Regions from separate parts of the Homo sapiens genome. Here region 2 is linked to region 1. Evidence: promoter capture Hi-C in human tissues and cell types (Jung and others, 2019). All regions are on one chromosome and are shown on one strand. Each heading gives the region's core, a stretch centred on a gene start or on the middle of the fragment in contact. The rest is flanking DNA. Distances are from core to core; before and after follow the strand shown. Region 1 overlaps GPSM2 (G protein signaling modulator 2). Region 2 holds the start of WDR47 (WD repeat domain 47).

Region 1 (4,470 bases), core at 47-2,546:
CATAACTGAGTGAAATAAAGCATATACACAATATACACCACATATGCTAAACAGGTTTAAAAGATATTAAAGGTTGAAAACTTCATTTAAAAACAATTACTTTTAAAGATAAAAACCAATATTATAAAGGGGTCATACTGCTGCTATTAAATCTTATGTACAATAATATTTATTGAGCACTGTGTACCAGATACTGTGTTTAGTATATTATTTCATTCAATCCTCACAGCATTCCCCAAAATGAAGTATTGATATATTCTGTTACAGATAAGGAAATTGAGGCTTAGATGCCAAAAGTTCTGCTACAATCAGATTTTAAACCTAAAGCCTATGAATTAATGGGACTGAGTATTCATTTTACATTTATCTACAGAAATATTAGACTAACTTGTAGTATTCCGAGGCAGTTTCAAATTCACCAAGAAATATATATGCATTTCCAAGGTTGCTATATGCTCTTCTTTCAGCTGCTTTATCTCCAAATTCTTTTGCAATAAGGAGACGCTGAAACAAACAATTTTAATTAGATGTAGATAAAATAAAACTGAAGAATGATCTAATCACTGTTCAGAACTTTGATGGAGGAAATGATCTGGCTCCAAGGCTTTCCACTGTACCTGCTCATGAGCTATAACTGCATCCCTGAAGTTGCCAAGGAGGTAATGTGTGTTTCCAAGATTTCCAAAGGCACGTCCTTGTGCCGCTCGGTCACCCAAAGCAGTCACTAATGATAGGTTTTCCCTAAGGGATCGCAAAAAGTGATGAAAAAATAAGTTTGCAGAACAATTTTATGTATGTGATTTACATATCTAATTCTTTTTATCAGAAAAAAATGTAGGGAAGCTTACAGCCATAATGTGCAACATTTTAAGGATGACATCTATGATGAAGAGCAATTATAGGAAATAGCTGGGAACACTTTATTAAACTATTCAGATAGGTTTCTGCCCAGGGTCAAGCACAGAGTTAATCTTGGAACCCCTATAGTTAAGTAGTTCTATGAAATTCTATTGGTAAAAGACTAAATTACTCTAAATAACAGACCAACCATTGACATTTCTTGCTTTTGCCACTAAGTGGCACTGGTCTGCAACTTAAATGAAAGCTGCAGATTACTACTAATATAACACTGTAACATTTAAGCAACTGAATTGATGATTTTGCTAGTTCATAACTTTAAAATCTTTGCCAAACTTAAAAACTTACTACTGAATAAAGAACGTACAGCAGATCCACGGCTTAGATGGGCCTACATGACTGCCCATATCAGCCCCTACTCACTCATAAAAATCCACGGCTGCCTGCAGAGCATCTCTCACTTCTTCTGGAAATTCTCCTACATCCTGGGGACCAGGGCAACCAAAACTTTTCCCTTTGGCATGATACACATTCCCAAGATTGTAAAGTGCTCTTGCTTCTCCCACCTAAATGAAGACATCAGCAAAGTTTACATTTTGAAAACAGAGGTCAGGTTTATCATATATATTTGTAATATCCTTAGTATTACGGACAAGGGAAAAAAATTTTTATATTGGCTCTCCATACAGAACCAATCAAATAATTACTTATGAAAGACCTCTTACTATTTCCTTCTTTTTCTCCATTAAATTTTTTTTCTTTTACTTCTATTAGTCTATAAATGTTTTCTTTTTTGGTATTAATTTTAAAATAAACTATAGAATAATTAAATAGTATTAAAATGCAAAGCCCTTTGAATGAAAATATTAGGCCTACCATCTAATGCTGCGGTATTACCTTGTCATTAAGCTCTCTGGAAATATCTAGGTGTCGCTGACAACAAACTATGGCTTCGTCAAAATTCCCAAGAACTTTTAAGGTGTTTCCCAGATTACCACTAGCTTTCGCTTCCCCCAGCTGGTCTCCAATAGTCCTGAAAAAAACAAAAAACAAAAAACAAAAAACCAAATGGTATTAAAATACAAATGGTGTTAAAATATAAAGTAGCCAGAGTACAGTTTTCCAAGAGGACAAACTGACATGCTTAAGGTAAGAAAAACCCATTGGCTTTGAAACCTACTTTAAATAAATATTTAAAACTTACATTTCTGGATTTGAATGTAATTAGTTTTCATCCATTTAATTAAACTCTAGGGTCAATTCACTACTATTCATTCAATTAAACTGTGTTCAGCCTAAAGGTTAGTTTTGAAAAGCGATGTTACTGAAGTAGAACTCATTAAATGTATTAAGTTAGTTTTTGTTAATTGAATAGAAATATTTTTTAAAGTAATAGCTAATTTCAGAAGGAAGAATATTTAAAAGCTTAAATTAATTACCTTGCAAGGGTTAAATCATGATGGTGATATTCTAATGCTTTGGCATAATCATGCAAATAGAAATAAGCATTGCCCAACTGGCTGTAAATAGCGCTAAGTGTTTTTAGGTCTTCAGTTCCAACTTGAACTGCAGCTTCAAAGAATGACACGCCAGCGCGGCAGTCTCCTGATTTACATAGACGTTCCCCTTCCAAGGCCAGCTCTAGGCAAGAAGCTTCCATTCTACAAAATTATACAGGACAGACATTTAAACATAACATTACAGCTGCATCACAGTATTTTTAACTTCCCGTAATATAATTTAAGCGGCTACTCTTGTTCAGGGCAGCTGCCTCTATAACTGAAGTTTATATACATTCCTGATAAAACAGTAAGCAGTTATTTGTAGCAAGAGGTAATTTGCCTATTCGAATTTCTCTGAGCCTGCTCAGAGAGGTCAGGATAGCTAAATATCTTTATGTGGAGCTCATTTTAATTGGCCCAGAGCAATCCACGTTACTAGTGAAAGAGCCTAAAGCAGTATTTCCCAAACAATTCTGAGTTGTAACAGACCTCTGGACTTCCTTAGAGTCTGAGAAGATGAGTATGTAGGAAAGTGAGGCCCTACAATTATTAATATTGTTCTCTACCCAGGTATCCAAGTAATCTAGTCACCTGTTCATCAGCCCCTCTGACCATCCAGCCATCCATCCCTCGCTCTCTCTCTCATACACACACAACACACACTCACTCTCCTTCCTCTTCTTACCACCACATGTCCACTTATACCCTAGAAAAATAGAGGAACAAAATATTCTTGATCTGTAAGACACATTTTCACAAGAGAACTAGGTGTCAAGAAACTAAGTTAGAAAACAATGATTCAAAAATTTGCAGAAATACTAATTTTGAAAGTCTGTCCCTGAATTGAAAAAGAAGGATTAAGTCACTGTAAACATATCTGGGAGAAAAAAACACTGATACTTTGGATTCAAATCCTAAATTTTAGAGGGTGCCCTTCACCAAAGTTGCCATTGTGTTTCTTCAGCATCTTCATGATTTCTGCCATATGTAGGAACTACCTATTCGTTTAATTATTTCTGTAATTTGGCAAATTTCCTTTAAATTGGCACACTATCTTTAACTTATCATTTTAAAAAAATGGAGCTTCATCCAAAGCAGTACTCATGAAACTGTGAATTTGATACGATACTTATATGTATATTCTAATACAACGGTCTCCAATCTTTTTGGCACCAGGGGCCGGTTTTGTGGAAGACAATTTTTCCATGGACGGGTGGCAGGGGATTGTTTTGGGATGATTCAAGTGCATTACATTTATTGTGTACTTTATTCCTCTTGTTACTATACATTCACCATAATGTACAATCAGTGGGAGCCCTGAGCTTGTTTTCCTGCAACTAGATGGTCTCCTCTGGGTGTGACTGGAGACAGTGACAGATCATCAGGCATTAAACTCTCATAAGGAATGTGCAATCTGGATCCCTCGAATGTGCAGTTCACAATAGGGTTTGCACTCCTATGAGAATCTAATGGTACTGCTGATCTGACAGGAGGCGGAGCTCAGGTGAAAATGCTCACTCGTCCTGCCCACCTGCAGCTTACCTCCTAACAGGCTACAACAGTACTGGTCTGTGGCCCAGGGGTTGGGAACCCCGTTCTAATACACATTAAACAAATATGAAATTATTAAAATCTAAAAGTGAGTAAAGTTACCTTATGTACCACCAGTGGCATACATATCACTCTTTGAGAAGCTCTGATTAAGCTCATCAAATGTTTTAATTTTTGGAACAGCATTAAGTTACTCCTTACTAGAATGAGCTTTGAGCCACTCCAATAGAGCAGTTGTTCTTAATGCTGGCTGTACAACAGCAGAGCTCACCTGGAGCACTTTCTAAAACTCCCAACGCTGAACTCCACCCTCTGGGTGATGTCTGGCCACCTGTATTTTTTTAAAGCCCCAGGTAATTCTAAAGTACAAGTTAGGGTTGAGAATCAGTGCTTTTATAAGAAATGTGAATTAAACCACCACCCACCCTAATATCATTCAAATATGATTATACTCTGTATATCTAGTGGTAGATCAATTAACATGTTTTTGTGAGTGCTGTTTTTCAGTCTGCAAAATTTCAAGGGTCCTTAGAGCCATAAATTAAAATGGGATTGTAAA
Region 2 (4,526 bases), core at 1,992-4,491, 140 kb before region 1:
GGCACCTGCCTGTAATCTCAGCTACTCAGGGGGCTGAGGCAGAATTGCTTGAACCCAGGAGGCAGAGGTTGCAGTGAGCTGAGATTGCGCCATGTACTCCAGCCTGGGTGACAGAGTGACTCCGTCTCAAAAAAAAAAGAAAGCCAGGCACAGTGGCTTATGCCTGTAATCCCCAGGACTTTGGGAGGCCAAGGCAGGCAGGCGGATCACGAGGTCGAGACCAGCCTGACCAACATGGTGAAACCCTGTCTCTACTAAAAATACAAAAACTAGCTGGGCATGGTGGTGTATGCTGTAGTCCCAGCTACTCTGGGGGCTGATGCAGGAGAGTCGCTTGAACCCAGGAGGAGGAGGTTCAGAGTGCCAAGATCGCACCACTGCACTCCAGCCTGGGCGACACAGTGAGACCCCATCTCAAAAAAAAAAAAAAAAAAAGGAAAAAAAGAAAAGAAAAGAAAAAAAAGAAATGTGTATCTTCAAGCTCTCGCTTCTTTTATCTTGAACTGGACAAGATTTTGTATTCCCAGAAATATGGTTTAAATTTTGTTTATTTTTAATTTTTATAGTTACATAATAGTTGTAGATATTTCTGGAGTAAATACAATGTGTAATGATCAAATCTGGGTAATTGGGATATCCATCACCTTAGAAATGCATTATTATTATTAAGACACAGGGTCTTACTCAGTCACCCAGGCTGGAGTGCAGTAGTGTGATTATAGCTCATGGTAGCCTCGGACTTTGAGCTCAAACTATCTTCTCACTTCAGCCTCTCAAGTAGCTAGGACTGCAGGTGTGTCTCACCGTGTCTAATTTTTTATTCTTGTTTTTGTAGAGAGGGAGTCTCACTATGTTGCCTAGGCTAGTCTCTAACTCATGGCCTCATGTGAGCCTCTGGCCTAAGCCTCCCAAAGTGCTGGGATTTCAGGCATGAGCCACTGTGCCCACCCATTTATTATTTCTTTTCTTTTTTTTTGAGACGCGGTCTCGCTCTGTCACCAGGCTGGAGTGCAGTGGCCCAATCTCGGCTCACTGCAACCTCCGCCTCCCGGGTTCAAGTGATTCTCCTGCCTCAGACTCCCGAGTAGCTGGGACTACAGGCGCACACCACCACACTCGGCTAATTTTTGTATTTTTAGTAGAGACAGGGTTTCACCATGTTGGCCAGGATGGTCTCGATCTCTTGACCTCTTGACCTCGTGATCTGCCCGCCTCGGCCTCCCAAAGTGCTGAGATTACAGGCATAAGCCACCACGCTTGGCCTGCCATTTACTATTTCTTTGTGTTGGGAACATTCTGAATCTTCTCTTCTAGCTGTTTGGAAATATAGAATAGATTATTGTTAACTATAGTCACCCAATTATGCTATTGAGCACTAGAATTTATTCCTGCTACATAACTGTATTTTTGTACCCATTAACCTCTTTATCCCCCCTTTGCCCTCCACTACACTTTCTAGCCTCTGGTAACCACCATTCTATTCACTACCTCCACGAGATCAATTCTTTTAGTTCCCACATATGTGTGAGAACGTGCAATATTTGTCTTTTTGTGCTTGTCTTGTTTCACTTAACATAATGTCCTCCCGTCCCATCCATGTTGCTGCAAATGACAGGATTTCATTCTTTCTTAATGGGTGAATAAGATTGTATTGTGTGGCCGGGCGCGGTGGCTCACGCCTGTAATCCCAGCACTTTGGGAGGCCGAGGCGGGTGGATCACGAGGTCAGGAGATCAAGACCATCCTGGCTAACACGGTGAAACCCCGTTTCTAATAAAAATACAAAAAAAAAAAAAAAAATTAGCCGGACCTGGTGGCGGGCGCCTGTAGTCCCAGCTACGCGGGAGGCTGAGGCAGGAGAATGGCGTGAACCCGGGAGGCGGAGTTTGCAGTGAGTCGAGATGGCGCCACTGCACTCCAGCCTGGGCGACAGAGCGAGACTCCGTCTCAAAAAAAAAAAAAAAAAAAAAAGATTGCATTGTGTATATGTACCACATTTTCTTTATCCATTTGTCTGTTGATTGACATAGGTTGATTCTATATTTTGGCTATTGTGAATAGTACTGCAATAAGCATGGGAGTGCCAGAAATATTTTTGATGTTTATTCTCTTTACCAGACTGTTACCCCATTTTCCCCTTTTGGGAGGTCCAGCTCACTCTGGACTTTCGCCTCTGTGAGGATGATGTTCTTTTTTCTGTGAGACGGAGTCTCTCGCTCTGTCACCCAGGCCGGAGTGCAGTGGCATGATCTCGGCTCACTGCAACCTCCGTCTCCCAGGTTGAAGCGATTCTCCTGCCTCAGCCTACCAAGTAGCTGTGATTACAGGAGGCTTGCCAGCACACCCGGCTAATTTTTGTATTTTTAGTAGAGACGGGGTTTCACCATGTTGGCCAGGCTGGTCTCAAACTCCTGACCTCAGGTGATCCGCCCGCCTCGGCCTCCTAAAGTGCTGGAATTGCAGGCGTGAGCCACCGCGCCTGGCCGAGAATGATGTTCTTACAGGTTTGTGTAATTGTATTCTTCCTTATGGTTATACTTCCTGGATGCTTAATTAAGCTCGGTTGAACATCACGTATATTTGTGGAATAAGGGGCTTACAACCAACAGGAGTAGACAAAACCTGAACATATTAAATGTTAAGTAACTGAAAAATGCTTTCAAGGCAGATCAGCTTTGCAAAATGAGAAACCAGGAAGGGGACAAACAAACTACTGGAGTTTTCTGGGACGAAGTGGGACCTAGGAAAGCAGCGAAAGAAGGGTAGAAGGCAACATTAATTTCATTAACCTTTATTAATTATCGGGGAGGAGTATGAAGAGTCAATCCTAATGCGCAGTCTTCTCCATTTGCAGGCGACAATCCTGTTCGTGCTATTTTGGGACATGGGGTCACCGGCCAGCTAAGGGTCTACGTCCCTGCCACCAGTCTCACGCTATTGCCGCACCCGTTCTGCTACTCCCCCGGGCCCCTAGCCGGTCCCTCCAAGCCCGACCCCCGCCCGCCCCGCCCAGGCTTTGGTCCGCCCCGCCCAGGCTTTGGTCCGCCCCGCCCCTCCCCGCCCCAGCTTTGGGCCCGCCCCTCCACGCCCCTCCCCGCCCCGCCCCGCCCCGCCGACTCGCCCTTCGGCTCAGGCACCTGCCTGGCCGCCCCGCGCGGCGGGGTCCTGAGGCGCCTCGGGGAAGCGCGGCGATTGGCTGCCGCTCGCGGGTAGAGCTCGGCTCCCCGGCACTTGACAACCGCAGTCTGCAAGAGGCTGAGCTGAGGAGTCGCTGGGCCGGGAGGGGCGGACGTGAGAAGGACGGATTGACGAACTGATGGATTGACGCGCGGGCGGTAGGAGGGAGGACCGACGCCAAACCCAGACCGCCGCCGTCGTGCTCCTGCCGCAGCCCGGAGCCGGCCGCTTCGGGGCCCTGGCCGCCGGCCTCCCAGCCGCGTTCTCCTCCGCCGCTCCTCCGGGCTTGCCCTGGAGCCCTCAGGTGGGTGACTCCGGGAGTCGGAGGCTGGGTCGGTCCGCTGCACACCTCGGGTTGCCATGGTCACCCGTCGCCTCCTGTCACCACCTGACACGGCTCCGACCGGGCGGCCCCGAGGACTGTGTTTGCGGCCCCGGAGAGGGGTCTTTAGTGGGCTTGGGTGCCGACTGGGAGGGGGCTGGGGTCGTGGGTGAGGCCCCAGCATCGCGGGGTGAGGATCTGCGAACTGCTGGGCCCCGGTTCGAGGTCACCGGTCCTGGACCACACCTTTCCCACATTACCAGTTGGATTCTGGGGGCAGAGCGACGCCCCTCGCCCTGGCACTGAGCAGCAAGTGAGCGCGAGGTTCGTGCCCATCTCGCCGCTGCGCCGATTCTTCCTTCCTCGCCCCTTGGTCGAGCCCGTGCGAGAACTGAGGGGCGCGCTCGCGTCCCTTTCTGGGCACGCCTTGGCCCGGAGGAAGAGAGGGAGCGGCGGGGCTGGGAGCCCCGCTGGGGCCGGTTTTGGCCTTTCTCACATCAATGGTCGGGATGGGAGCAGGCCTTTGGGGATCTGGGTGTGGTCGCGGAAAGGGGCAGCGACTCGATTTAGAACTGGGATTGCGCTGGAGGGGCGCCTGCGTAGAAGAACGCAAGGTTGTGGAACTCAAAGGGTTAAACCGCTTCCCTTTATTGGGGAGAAAAATATTGGAACTCTAGCTCTGGGGCGAGGCCATGGGCAAAGGGGGCGGGGGCGGGGGGCGAGGGTAGGCCGGGGCGGCATTTGGGCTTTTGACCAGATGATTTTTCCTTCTCTGTACCCAGACGTGCAGTTAGTAACCGTGCATGGTATCTGAGGGGACCGTTTTTTTTTTTTGGCAACTTGGTTTTCTCTGCATAATGAAAGGAGAAGTCTTTGTTCCACCCAGATTCGTAGGTTGTGATCCTAATACTTATTTCTCTCTTTGTTGGAGACTCTGTAGAATGCCTCAAAAAGTTAATGGCACAGAAATGAACATGTAGGTTTAAAAAATGCTATAAATCTTTTTTTCACAGTAAATTCAAGTAGA

Evidence for each region. Contacts are between HindIII fragments. The study calls those that stand out against the background at their distance.
Region 2: a contact is called between the fragment with the promoter of WDR47 here and a fragment that was not itself captured in region 1, in 1 of the 25 tissues and cell types used here (hippocampus).

The regions. Positions count from the first base shown.
Region 1 is chr1:108,894,913-108,899,382 of GRCh38, reverse strand. GPSM2 (G protein signaling modulator 2) reads right to left here. Exons shown (of 15, transcript NM_013296.5): 3 at 2,298-2,519; 4 at 1,756-1,891; 5 at 1,282-1,424; 6 at 618-741; 7 at 389-504. Among named protein-coding and RNA genes, the nearest start is that of GPSM2, 20 kb to the right of the region's middle. The HindIII fragment of the contact is 6,291 bases long and covers 1-4,441 here.
Region 2 is chr1:109,040,817-109,045,342 of GRCh38, reverse strand. WDR47 (WD repeat domain 47) reads left to right here and starts at 3,241. Exons shown (of 15, transcript NM_001142551.2): 1 at 3,241-3,481. RefSeq lists a silencer at 3,044-3,593. The HindIII fragment of the contact is 14,404 bases long and covers 1-4,526 here.